Regions from separate parts of the Homo sapiens genome. Here regions 1 and 3 are each linked to region 2. The links are contacts of gene promoters, found by promoter capture Hi-C in human tissues and cell types (Jung and others, 2019). All regions are on one chromosome and are shown on one strand. Each heading gives the region's core, a stretch centred on a gene start or on the middle of the fragment in contact. The rest is flanking DNA. Distances are from core to core; before and after follow the strand shown. Region 1 overlaps RNF121 (ring finger protein 121). Region 2 holds the start of IL18BP (interleukin 18 binding protein). Region 3 overlaps RNF121 (ring finger protein 121).

Evidence for each region. The method cuts DNA at HindIII sites, captures the fragments that hold promoters and counts their contacts. A contact is called where the count stands out against the background at its distance.
Region 1: a fragment that was not itself captured here is called in contact with the fragment with the promoter of IL18BP in region 2 in 1 of the 25 tissues and cell types used here (mesendoderm cells).
Region 3: a contact is called between a fragment that was not itself captured here and the fragment with the promoter of IL18BP in region 2, in 2 of the 25 tissues and cell types used here (bladder and lymphoblastoid cells).

What each region holds. Positions count from the first base shown.
Region 1 is chr11:71,940,942-71,945,291 of GRCh38, forward strand. The region is part of intron 1 of RNF121 (ring finger protein 121); the gene reads left to right. Among named protein-coding and RNA genes, the nearest start is that of RNF121, 14 kb to the left of the region's middle. The HindIII fragment of the contact is 4,929 bases long and covers 26-4,350 here.
Region 2 is chr11:71,997,627-72,001,934 of GRCh38, forward strand. IL18BP (interleukin 18 binding protein) reads left to right here and starts at 1,283. Exons shown (of 6, transcript NM_001039660.2): 1 at 1,283-1,393; 2 at 2,301-2,386; 3 at 2,725-2,931; 4 at 3,575-3,698; 5 at 3,779-3,926; 6 at 4,158-4,308. The coding sequence starts at 2,359. The coding sequence ends at 4,235. The HindIII fragment of the contact is 6,503 bases long and covers 1-1,953 here.
Region 3 is chr11:71,958,684-71,962,495 of GRCh38, forward strand. It overlaps RNF121 (ring finger protein 121), which reads left to right. Exons shown (of 9, transcript NM_018320.5): 3 at 2,067-2,208. Among named protein-coding and RNA genes, the nearest start is that of RNF121, 32 kb to the left of the region's middle. The HindIII fragment of the contact is 5,197 bases long and covers 1-3,812 here.

The sequences.
Region 1 (4,350 bases), core at 1,240-3,739, 55 kb before region 2:
ATATGCAAGGCTTGGAGACGTTAAACAGCGTGGAATATTCTGGGACTGTACGCAGTTCTGTATGACTGGAATTTAGGTTAAACGTAAGGGGATAGCAGTGAGTGACTGTGCTAAAAAGCCTGGGCTGTAGAGAGCCACTGAAGAGTCTTGAGCAGGGGAGTAATGTGTTTAGATCTCTGTCTCAGAATGACCAAGTCTAATTGAAGTTTGGAAGTTACTTTTGGAAGGATCAGGTTGGAAAAAGGAGAATAAATCAGTTAGGAGATATTGCAGTAGTTTAGGAGCGAGATGATGCGGACCTGAGCTTGAGCAAAGACAGTAGGGTAGAGAGAAGTGAGCAGCTATAAAAATGTTAAATAGCAGTGCTTTCACTTATTTATGTTTTGCCCTTTATTTCTCTCCCTAATTCGTTCACTCATGTATTCAGTAAACATTTATTAAGTTTGTGGTCTGTATTAATTATTCATTATTTCCTTCTTCAAATACTTGTGACTTCAGTGTCAAACATTTTTCTAGGTCCCAGTAATTCAGCAGTGAACAAGACAACTGAGGTCCTTGCTCATATTAGGTTTAGTTTCTAATGTGGTAAAGTAGATAACAAATAAACAGGATAACTCCAGATGGTGACAAATGCTTTGAGAAAAGTAATGTAATGTGATAAAGATGACTAGAAGAGAAAGGCTACTTTAAATAGGGTGATTATGGAAAGCCTCTGAGGAAATGCTACTTGAACCAAGTCCTGAATGGTGAAGACCTAGCAATTTCGAGATTTGGAAGCAGATATGTTCCAAGTGGAGGGAGAAGCAAGTACAAATTAATGGGAATGAACAAGGCATGTCCTGGGACCAAAAAGAAAGCCAGTGTGACAGATCATAATTAGCAAAGGAAAAATGGTTCTGTATGAGGTCAGGGAGTCTGGCAAGGTCAGATTTATAAGGCCTTGTAGCTGCTGTGATACATGTTGAATTTTATTGAGCGTGTAATGAGAATTTTTTTTTTTTTTTTTTTTGAGACGGAGTCTTGCTCTGTTGCCCAGGCTGGAGTGCAGTAGCGCGATCTTGGCTCGCTGCAAGCTCCGCCTCCTGGGTTCGTGCCATTCTCCTGCCTCAGCCTCCCGAGTAGCTGGGACTACAGGTGCCTGCCACCACGCCCAGCTATTTTTTTGTATTTTTTATTAGAGACGGGGTTTCACCATGTTAGCCAGGATGGTCTCAATCTCCTGACCTAATAATCCATCTGCCTCGACCTCCCAAAGTGCTGGGATTACAGGCATGAACCACCGTGCCCGGCAATGAAAAGATTTTGATTGGGTTTCAAAATGGGAGTGATGTGAGCTGATTTTCATTTTTTAAAAGATCTTTCTGGCTGCTTTGAGAAGAATGGATTGTAGGAGGTGACTCAGTGAGAGGGTTAGGAAGTTATGGTAATAGTCCATATGGGAGATGATAGTGTTTTGGATTCGGTGGGGGGTGTTTTAGTCCTTTTGGGCTGCTATAGTAAAATACCTTAGACTGGGTAATTTATAAACAACAGAAATTTAGCCGGGCACAGTGGCTCACGCCTGTAATCCCAGGACTTTGGGAGGCTGAGGCGGGCGGATTACTTGAGACTAGGAGTTTGAGACTAGCCAGGCCAACATGGTGAAACCCCGTTTCTACTAAAAATATAAAAAATTAGCTGGGCATGGTGGCAGGTGCCAGTAATCCCGGCTACTCTGGAGGCTGAGGCAGGAGAATCGCTTGAACCTGGGAGGCGGAGGTTGCAGTGAGCCAAGATCGTGCCACTGCACTCCAGCGAGACTCTGTCTCCAAAAAAAAAATCTATATATCTGTATATATATATATATATAGATATATATATGTACACACACACACACACACACATATATATGTATATATTTCTCACAGTTCTGGAGGCTGGGAAGTCTAAAGGCAAAGTTCTAGCAGATATGATGTCTGGCAAAGGCTCTGTGCTTCAAAGGGGGCTCCTTGTTGCTGTGTCTTCACATGGCAGAAGGGACACACAGCCTCCCTAAAGCCACTTTTGTAAGGGCACTAATCCCATTCATGAGGTCTCCACCTTCACAACCTAATCACCTCCTAAAGGTTCCCTCCACCTCTTCTTAATACTATTGCATTGGAGGTTAGGTTTCAACGTACTAATTTTGGGGAACACAAACATTCAGACCATAGCAGGGATAGCAGAGACGATGGAGAAAAGTGGATAAATTTAGAATATGTTTTGAAATAGAGCCTACAGGACTTGCTGGTGGATTGGATATGTGATGTAAGGGAAAGAAAATAATCAAGCTTGCTTTTATATTTTTTTGAATTTTTTGCTTTGACTTGAGTAAATGGCATCACCATGGTACCATTAGGTGCCATGTTAATTAGGCAGTTGGAAATACGAGCTTATAGCTCAGGGAGAGGTTTGGACGTTGTTCTGGGACTCTGAAGATCTGGCTTTTTATCCTAGCTCTGCCATGCAGCTGTTATCTGTGACAAGTCAATAAGGTAATGCTGTCAGCTTTAAAATAATAAAGGCATTTGTTACGCCAGCCTCGTGTATGTTGGGAGAATCCTGTTCACTTGTTTATTGATTGGTCACATACTGTGAATTTACCAAGGTACTGCATTAGATGTGAAAGATAACAAAGACATAGGCCTTGCTCTCAGGTTGCTCATGGTGTAGTGGAAAAGTTAGTAAACAGATGTAATAATTGCTATAATATGAAGAAGCAGAGATTTCAGGGAGCACCAAAAATGGCAGGCAAGGGATCAGAAAAGACTCCCTAGAAGTGATACCATAGCTGAGTGTGAAAGTGACTAGAAATTAACCAGCTAAAGAAAGAATAGAAGAGCCCTCTAGGCAGGAGGAGCAGCATGTGCAAGGTGGGAGGTGAGAAAGAGAATGCCACCTTCAGGGAACTGTATGCAGTTTAGTATTACTGGAACCTCAGAGTAGAAGGTGGGGAGTAATGATAAAATAGGGAGACTGGAAAGGGAGGCAGATGTGATGACACATAAGGCCTTATATGCTGTGCTGAGGAGTTTGGATTTTTATCTGTAGCTGATGATTAGCTGTAGAAGAGCTTTAAGAACTTAGGTTGGCTGGGCACGGTAACTCATGTCTGTAATCCCAGCACTTTGGGAGGCTGAGGTGGGAGGATCACTTGAGGTCAGGAGTTCGAGACCAGCTTGGGCAACATGATGAAACCCCGTCTCTACTAAAAATACAAAAAATTAGCCAGGCGTGGTGGCATGCACCTGTAATCCCAGCCACTCGGGAGACTGAGGCAGGAGAATCACTTAAAGCTAGGAGGTGGAGGTTGCAGTGAGCCGAGATTGTGCCACTGCACTCCTGCCTGGGCAACAGAGCGAGACTCTGTCTCAAAAAAAAAGAGGAACTTAGGTGAATGACATGGATCAGATGTGCATTATAGAAAGATCATTCTTGGGGCAGAAATGGAGGAGGGACTAAGGGGCAGGAAAAATTTGCCTTAATCCAGGCAAGTAGGGCTTCCAAATTTATCTAATTCTAAAATGCACATAATTTCTGGTGTATTATATATACTGCAGGAGAGCATATGTTAAGTCCCAAAGGAGCTGGGAGCAGAGGAAGGTAAAACTGGAAAGACAGCTAGGGGTCAGGTCATGGCCTTGTGTGGTCCCAAGAGCTCACTGTCCGTGCTCCTGTGGAGGGCATTGTGTAGTCTACTAAGGAGTTCTTACTTTCACAGGCAGCATTAGGACACCAGAAGATTTGAACTTGGGTGACACAGTGACTCGAGAAGTACATGAGGTTGAAGGACCTGGATTAAGTTTGTAGACTGAGTAATAGGAAGGAAGGAAAAGATAGTAGATATATTTCTTACCCCACTGATCTAGGCCTTCTGGTACTACCAGCCATGAACTTTGGTTTTCCCTTCTCCCTAAATCTTCCTTCAGTCCTAGCTGTATGCTGTGTTAAGTTTGGAAAGTATTTACTGCTGGCTATTAAAGATCAAGTAGGATTATGTTAGTATTTCTCTTACAAGGAAGAGTCACTTTTTTGTTGTTTTTTTTTTTGAGACAGGGTCTTCTGTCACCCAGGCTGGAGTGCAGTGGTGTGATCATGGCTCACTGCAGTCTGAACCTCCTGGGCTCAAGTGATCCTCCTGCCTCAGCCTCCTGAGTAGCTGGGACTACAGGTGTGTGCCACCACACTTGGCTAATTTTTAAATTTTTTGTAGAGATGGAGTCTTGCTATGTTACCCAGCTGGGTCTCCCAACTCCTGGCCTCAAGTGATCCTCCTGCCTCGGGCTCCCAAAGTGTTGAGATTACAGGCATGAGCCAACATGTCTGGCCAAG
Region 2 (4,308 bases), core at 33-2,532:
TTTCCCTGGGGTCCCCAGGGGTGTCTTGCCTTTGTTAACCCCCATCGGAGACCTGAGGGTCTGGGGGTGGTTGGGCCTGCCTTTCTGCTGTTCCCAGCTGTTCCCCTGCTGACATCCCTAGGAGTGGTGGAATGCCAGGCTCCTGTCCTGTGGCCTGGGGGCCTGGGGCATCATTGGGCCTGCCTTCAGACTGAGGTTGCTCTATGTTCTCACTGCCTGAGGACAGTGTCCCGCCACCACCTGCCTTCCTGAGGACCACACTCAGGCTCGGCTTCTCTTCCCCAGCTGTGGCTTCCCATGGTACCCTGCTGCTTATGCCACCTGTGGGGCTGTTCCCCTCCTCAGAGAGGGGAATGGGGCTGGTCAGAGGACCTAGGGATCACCCTTCCTTTTACTTTTTCCCCCCACCCCCCTGTCAGGCTCAGGTGAGAAGCCGAGGCCAGGCTGTCCAAAGCTCTTTTCATGTGTAACAGTTCTGAGTCCCTTGACCTCCCCCCTTGGCCTGACTCTGGTCTCGGTTCCACTAAGACAGAGTCCTGTCATCTTTCCCTACCATCCCCCACTGGACTGTCTCTCTCAGAAACCCCAGGCAGCCTTGCCTCCTGACCTAACTCCTGGAGATGCTGGTGTTCTTGGGAGGAATTTCTCCTGCATCTTACATGCTAGAAGCCCCTGGGGCAGGAGGTAGGGGGAGGAATTGAGAGGAGGAAAAACATGAACTAGACACCTAGAGAAGAAGGATGTGACTTGTAGTATCCTATGTCTAAATTAGGAATATGAATCTGGTTTTTCTACAAGAAGTTTGAGATCACAGCTGACTGTGTTCCTGATGCATCCACCAAACCCAGTTCCATCTGTGGGCCTCCCTGGCTCTGTCACCAGCCGTTGCACCCTCCCAATCACAGGAGTCACAAACCTCAGACATGCAGCTCCTGTCCACACTTAATATATGCATGCATTGGATCACCCAGCCCTGGTCTTTCTGCCTCCATGGATAACTGCATGACCCTGAGAGAAAACCTCCTTAGATTTAGCATCCTAGGTTCCTCACACGCCTCACCCTGAATCCTGGCCCTCCCGCAGCCCCAGCGCCATTTGTCCCATCAGTGACAAGATTCATATTCTGATGTAGACTCTGTTGCCAGAGCCAGTGTTGAGCCAGTCCGCCTCTTCCCCGGGAAGTGCCTGCCCTTCCCTCCTGTTAGGGTTGGCTCTCGAGCTTGTGTGCCAGTTCCTGGGTTGGCCGTGAGAGTTCTACAGACAAGGAGGAAGTGCTCTCGGTGTATTTCCTGTGGTGGGTTCACACGCAGCTAGACACAGCTAACTTGAGTCTTGGAGCTCCTAGAGGGAAGCTTCTGGAAAGGAAGGCTCTTCAGGACCTCTTAGGAGCCAGGTAGGAGTCTGGGACTACTAGTGAACCTAGACCTGTGGCTCTGGCCAGAGGGGCTAGGATGAGAGACAGAGGGTGTGATGGTGGGTGCTGGGAGATGTAGCCGACCTTGGGGCTGGTGGCTGGGGGAGTGGGTAGCCTGGGAAAGGCCAGGATGTGGACGGACTGGTATGGCATTGAGCCTGAAGTGGTCCAACTTGGGGTTCCCCAGTGCCTAGGAAAGTTGTCCCCTTGAATGTCAGTGTGAAGGTGAAGGAGGAAGCAGATGCCTGTTCATATGGAAACAAAGACCTGGCTGTGAAGAGGGGAGGCGGACACCAAAGTCCTGACACTTGGGCGGGACAGAATTGATCTGTGAGAGACTCATCTAGTTCATACCCTAGGTGACCCTGGGGGTGGCATGGGGGTAGATTAGAGATCCCAGTCTGGTATCCTCTGGAGAGTAGGAGTCCCAGGAGCTGAAGGTTTCTGGCCACTGAACTTTGGCTAAAGCAGAGGTGTCACAGCTGCTCAAGATTCCCTGGTTAAAAAGTGAAAGTGAAATAGAGGGTCGGGGCAGTGCTTTCCCAGAAGGATTGCTCGGCATCCTGCCCTTCCCAGAAGCAGCTCTGGTGCTGAAGAGAGCACTGCCTCCCTGTGTGACTGGGTGAGTCCATATTCTCTCTTTGGGTCTCAATTTTGCCTTCCCTAATGAAGGGGTAAGATTGGACTAGGTAAGCATCTTACAACCATTTGTGGTCATGAGAGCTGGGGTGGGGAAGGATTGTCACTTGACCCCCCCAGCTCTGTTTCTAAGTGCTGAAAGAGCTCCAGGCTATGCTACGGGAGGAGAAGCCAGCTACTGAGGAAAAGCCAGCTACTGAGAAAAAGCGGGAGTGGTTTACCATTCTCCTCCCCCACCTTTCACCAGAGAAGAGGACGTTGTCACAGATAAAGAGCCAGGCTCACCAGCTCCTGACGCATGCATCATGACCATGAGACACAACTGGACACCAGGTAGGCCTTGGGGCTACGCATGGGCAGGCGGGGTAGGGTGAGGTCTATGAACAGAATGGAGCAATGGGCTAACCCGGAGCCTTCACTCCAAGGCAAACCACCCAGCGCACCTGGTGCTGTTGCTTTAAGAACCTGGGCAGATATTGTAGCTCTGGCTCCAGTCTAAAGCTTCTCTGTACTCTGTTCAATAAAGGGCTAAGGGGTGGGTGCTGAGGGGTCCCTCTTCCCGCTCTGATTCCCTGGCTAGAACCCAGACATCTCTGGGCTGGAGTTACATCCTTACCCGGGCAGCCCACTCTGTCTCCAGAGCCGCTGACCTGTAACTGTCCTTTCCTCAGACCTCAGCCCTTTGTGGGTCCTGCTCCTGTGTGCCCACGTCGTCACTCTCCTGGTCAGAGCCACACCTGTCTCGCAGACCACCACAGCTGCCACTGCCTCAGTTAGAAGCACAAAGGACCCCTGCCCCTCCCAGCCCCCAGTGTTCCCAGCAGCTAAGCAGTGTCCAGCATTGGAAGTGACCTGGCCAGAGGTGGAAGTGCCACTGAGTAAGAAGCACAGTGGTGGAGGGTGGGCTATGGGCACAGAGGTTCCCAGGGTCGGGTTGACTCCTGAGCGCCAGTCCCCTTCTGCCCATGTACCACCAGCTGAGCCAGCTGGGCTGAGCACGCACCATTCTCCCTCCCCAACCCAGTGTCATGGGTGCAGGCTTGGCGCAGCTCCCAAGATGCTCCCTATCAAATAGGACAGAGAACTCAAGACATAAGTAATGGTCACAGGACCTCCCAGAGCCTTGGTTGCAGTGGACCCCAAGGCCAGCCCCTCCACCCAGAGCCTGCTGGCCTCTGGCCATCTCAGAGGAGCAGCAGCCATCCAGCACTGCCTTTGTCACCTGGGCTCCCAAGTCACCGAGGCTGGGCACTAGAAAAGGTCATCCTGAGGAGACAGGTTCAGAAGAGGATTCATCACGTGAACCAAGGACCATTCCTCACATTCCCCGTGTTTAGGGCTAGGGCCTCTCGGAGACAACTGCACTTCTGTAACGGACGTTCCCACCTAGGTGGTGTGCAGAGCAGTTCTCTAGGTTCCAGATGCATGGGGACTGGGGGGAGCTGGCAGGGAGGGCACAGCAGAGCAGGGTAGGGGAAGGGCCTGCTCTTCTGAAGAGCTAACTGCTGCCTGTGTCCCTAGATGGAACGCTGAGCTTATCCTGTGTGGCCTGCAGCCGCTTCCCCAACTTCAGCATCCTCTACTGGCTGGGCAATGGTTCCTTCATTGAGCACCTCCCAGGCCGACTGTGGGAGGGGAGCACCAGGTGAGGGTCGCAGCAGCCAGGTGGGTGGGAAGGAGGCCTTCTGCGGCCTTCTCATGACCTTTCCTTCCCTTCCGCTCCAGCCGGGAACGTGGGAGCACAGGTACGCAGCTGTGCAAGGCCTTGGTGCTGGAGCAGCTGACCCCTGCCCTGCACAGCACCAACTTCTCCTGTGTGCTCGTGGACCCTGAACAGGTTGTCCAGCGTCACGTCGTCCTGGCCCAGCTCTGGGTGAGGAGCCCAAGGAGAGGCCTCCAGGAACAGGAGGAGCTCTGCTTCCATATGTGGGGAGGAAAGGGTGGGCTCTGCCAGAGCAGCCTGTGAACTAATGCCCAGCATTCCTCAAGGTCAGCCAGACAAAAAGGAACTTAGGTCTTGGGCAGAGGAGGTGTAGCCTGGGGCAAAGTGATGAGATGTCCCTCCTTTCCTTGGCCTGATCCTTGTCTGCCTTCACTTCCCTAGGCTGGGCTGAGGGCAACCTTGCCCCCCACCCAAGAAGCCCTGCCCTCCAGCCACAGCAGTCCACAGCAGCAGGGTTAAGACTCAGCACAGGGCCAGCAGCAGCACAACCTTGACCAGAGCTTGGGTCCTACCTGTCTACCTGGAGTGAACA
Region 3 (3,812 bases), core at 53-2,552, 39 kb before region 2:
TGACAGAGCGAGACTCTCTCCAAAAAAATAATATATGTATATGTACCTACAATGTGCCAGACACTGCTGGTTCTAAAATAGATTACCTTAAAAGGCATGTGTTCTCAGCCAGTGGAAGTATTCAAGCAAAGATTGCAAAAATGATTTTTGCATTGGGTGGGAACTTGAACTGGATGACTTCTCTGGTCTTTTCTAGATCATTCTTTGACTTCATTTTGTGCACATCCGTTCACTGATATGTTGTCTGAGAACAAGAAACTTATCTCTTGCTATCTTTATAACTCCTCATAGCCCTTAGGTGTTTTTAAGTGTGCTCTACCCTCTTAGCCTATTCTCACAACAACTCTTGAGTCAGGCAGAAAAAATATGGACTCCTTTTGACAGATGAAGAAATTGTGATATACAGATGTGAGGTTAATTGGCCATGGCCATATAGGTGGGTCTGAATCTAAGTTTCGAACTCCCAATCCTATTCTCTTTCTGTCAGATTCTCCCACCCAGGGTAAAGTTTTATGTCAGATGAACCCTTAGGTGCTGAGGCTTACTGACTGGCATTTGGCTTCCCACTCTGCCCACCAAGTTTTCCCCCCTTACATTTTGTTATGAAAAACTTTAAACACATAGAAAAGTTGAAAGAATTGTACAGTGAACACCTTTATACTTACCACCTGGGTTCTACACTTTTTGTTATATTTGCTTTATTGTTTATAATTCATCCTTCTGGGTTATTTTTGCTGTTAATGTTTAATTGCCCATGGAAATTCCATGAAGACACTATTTATGTTGTCCTTTTCCTCCCTCCTAAATACCCTGGTGTAATGGGAATTGTATAAAAGCTTATGACTCAAGTTACATTTGTATTTGATTTTATTATTTATTTAAATTTGCCCTTTCCCACACATTCTGATGTATTTGATTTTCTCTCTAATTCCTTCTCTTCTCTCTCTCTTCTTCTTTTTTTTTTTTTTTTGAGATGGAATCTCATTCTGTCGCCCAGGACGGAGTGCAGTGTTGCGATCTTGGCTGACTGCAACCTCCACCTCCCAGGTTCAAGTGATTCTCCTGCCTCAGCCTCCTGAGTAGCTGGGATCACAGGCATGCACCACCACACCCGGCTAATTTTTGTATTTTTAGTAGAGACGGGGTTTCGCCATGTTGGCCAGGCTCATCGTTAACTCCTGACCTCACGTGATCCTCCGGCCTCAGCCTCTCAAAGTGCTGGGATTACAGGTGTGAGCCACCGCGCCCGGCCTCTAATTCCTTTCTCATTCCTCTCCTTTGGATGACTGTGACCCAGAGTGGTAGGAGTGACTGTTCTTAGAACAAGTTTTTAGCCAGTATTAGCCAAGGGAATCACTTGCTGCCAGTCTTTAAGACCAGCGAATGCCAGCCTTAGATTAATAAAAAGTTTCCAGCTGTACTCTCTAGTTACTAAACTTCCTTGAGCCTTTGAGGAGGCTGTTTACCTGTGGATACTGAGGGTAAAGTCACTGTTGGATTAGTATAAAGTTGAAGCAGTCCAGACTTTTTAGGCTTTAACTAGTCTTAAGGATTTCTGACTCTGGCAGAGAGGGTGGAATGAATAAAGCAAGACTTTAATCCTGGAATCAGCACACATTTGCAGCGTTACTCCTTTACTGCTGTCATAAATATTGGTGACTAAGCGTATGAGACTTTATGTCTATAACCTCTTTGGGTTACTTTCTCGTTCCAGCATCAGGTTGAAATAGACTTGAAATGGGCAATGATGCAGGTTTCTCCTGGGACCTCCTTCATGCTACAGGAAAGGTGTCAGCTGTTTCTTCCATGGGGGCAGGCAGCAGGCCACTTAGCTCTAATTCCAATATCTAGGCTTGGTTGCTGGGGGGTCCGTAGAGCCTGTATTCTATCTCGACATGCCTGTCTGTTAGGGTGTGTGTCCTAGCCCCTAATTTGTGTGGTACCCTGCAGCTATGAAGCAGGGAATGTGTTCTGAGCTATGTACTGGTGGGATATCCCTGGAAAGCACTGTCCCTTTATCACTACAGCATCCCTGACTTGATTCACCCCATGTGTTTGGCTTTCAGGGTCGAGCACGCACGCATGCATGCCAAGCACCGTGGCCATGAAGCTATGCATGCTGAAATGGTCCTCATCCTCATCGCAACCTTGGTGGTGGCCCAGCTGCTCCTGGTGCAGTGGAAGCAGAGGCACCCACGCTCCTACAATGTAAGCCACTTTGCCTCTTACTTCTTTGTCTGTCAGTCATCAAGAGACCCTTCCTAAGTATTCTAGGTCCCAGCCTAACCCAGGCCACATGGAGGTGGAGAAAGACAATAACAATGAACTTTATGTATGAATGATGAATAGTGTATTGGCGAGTGTGTGTCTAAGGGTCAGGTGATTCAGAGGGTGAAAAGGATAGAACATAAGACTATGTTCATAGGCAGAAAAGATAGGTTTTCCCTTCGAAACATTGTGGGACAGGTTCATGAAGGAGATAATCATCAGGAACTATTCAATTGGAGAGAGCAAAGATGAATTGACTGGGAAAACTAAGCATCTCATGAATCTTACAGGATCTAGATTACACTAATCTAAATTTTTTTAAAGAAGGATCGGGTGTGGTGGCTCATGTTTGTAATCCTAGTACTTTGGGAGATTGAGGTGGGCAGATGGCTTCAGCTCAGGAGTTCAAGACTAGCCTGGGCAACATGGCAAAACCCTATATCTACAAAAAATAGAGAAATTAGCCAGGCGTGGTGGCATGCGCCTATAGTCTCAGCTACTGGGGAGGCTGAGAGGTGGGAAGATTCCTTGAGCCTGGGAGGTCAAGGCTGCAGTGAGTCGTGATCGTGCCATTGCACTCCAGCCTGGAGACAGAGCAAGACTCTGTCTCAAAAAAAAGAAAAAGAAAAAACAGTAATGGTTGAAATTAGGTGGGGAAAATGACACACAGAAAACAAATAGCAAAATGGCAGAAGTTAATTCTTCCTTACCAGTAATCACTTTAAATATAAATGGATTAAATTCTTCCATTAGAAGACAGAAATTGGCAGATTGGTTTTAAAAATCCCCTCATTTATCGATATGCTGTCTATAGTAAATTCACTTTAGGTGGAAAGACACAAGCCAGGAGTGGTGGCACACACTTGTAATCCCACCTATTGAGGAGGCTGAGGTGGGAGAATTGCTTGAGCCAGGGGATTCAGTAAACTCATAAATGAGTGAAAGCCCCCTTGGCATTTCTGTGCTTATATGTAGAAATATTTTTAATTATATAATTTTGGCTAATCTGCAAAGATTTTTTTTTTTTTTTTTTTGAGACAGAGTCTCGCTGTGTCGCCCAGGCGGGAGTGCAGTGGTGCAATCTCTGCTCACTGCAAGCTCCGCCTCCCGGGTTCACGCCATTCTCCTGCCTCGGCTTCCCGCATAGCTGGGACTACAGGTGCCCACCATCACGCCTGACTAATTTTTTTGTATTTTTAGTAGAGACGGGGTTTCACTGTGTTAGCCAGGATGGTCTCGATCTCCTGACCTTGTGATCCGCCTCGGCCTCCCAAAGTGCTGGGATTACAGGCGTGAGCCACCGCGCCCGGCAGATTTTTACAACCTATTCTGAAGAAAGTGAGTATGCATATATGCACTGCAGTAATTTTCAATAAGAACTTTTTCCTTAAGTGTGGAATCCTTTCTTTAAACATTATCTTAAGGAAAAACTCAATCTGGGAAACAGTTAAGAGGCTGCTCTGCTTGATATGAAGGTTGGGTAACCCTAACACCTCTGCTTCCCCCTCTGAAATCTCTAGGACTCATCATAGCACTGTTAGAAA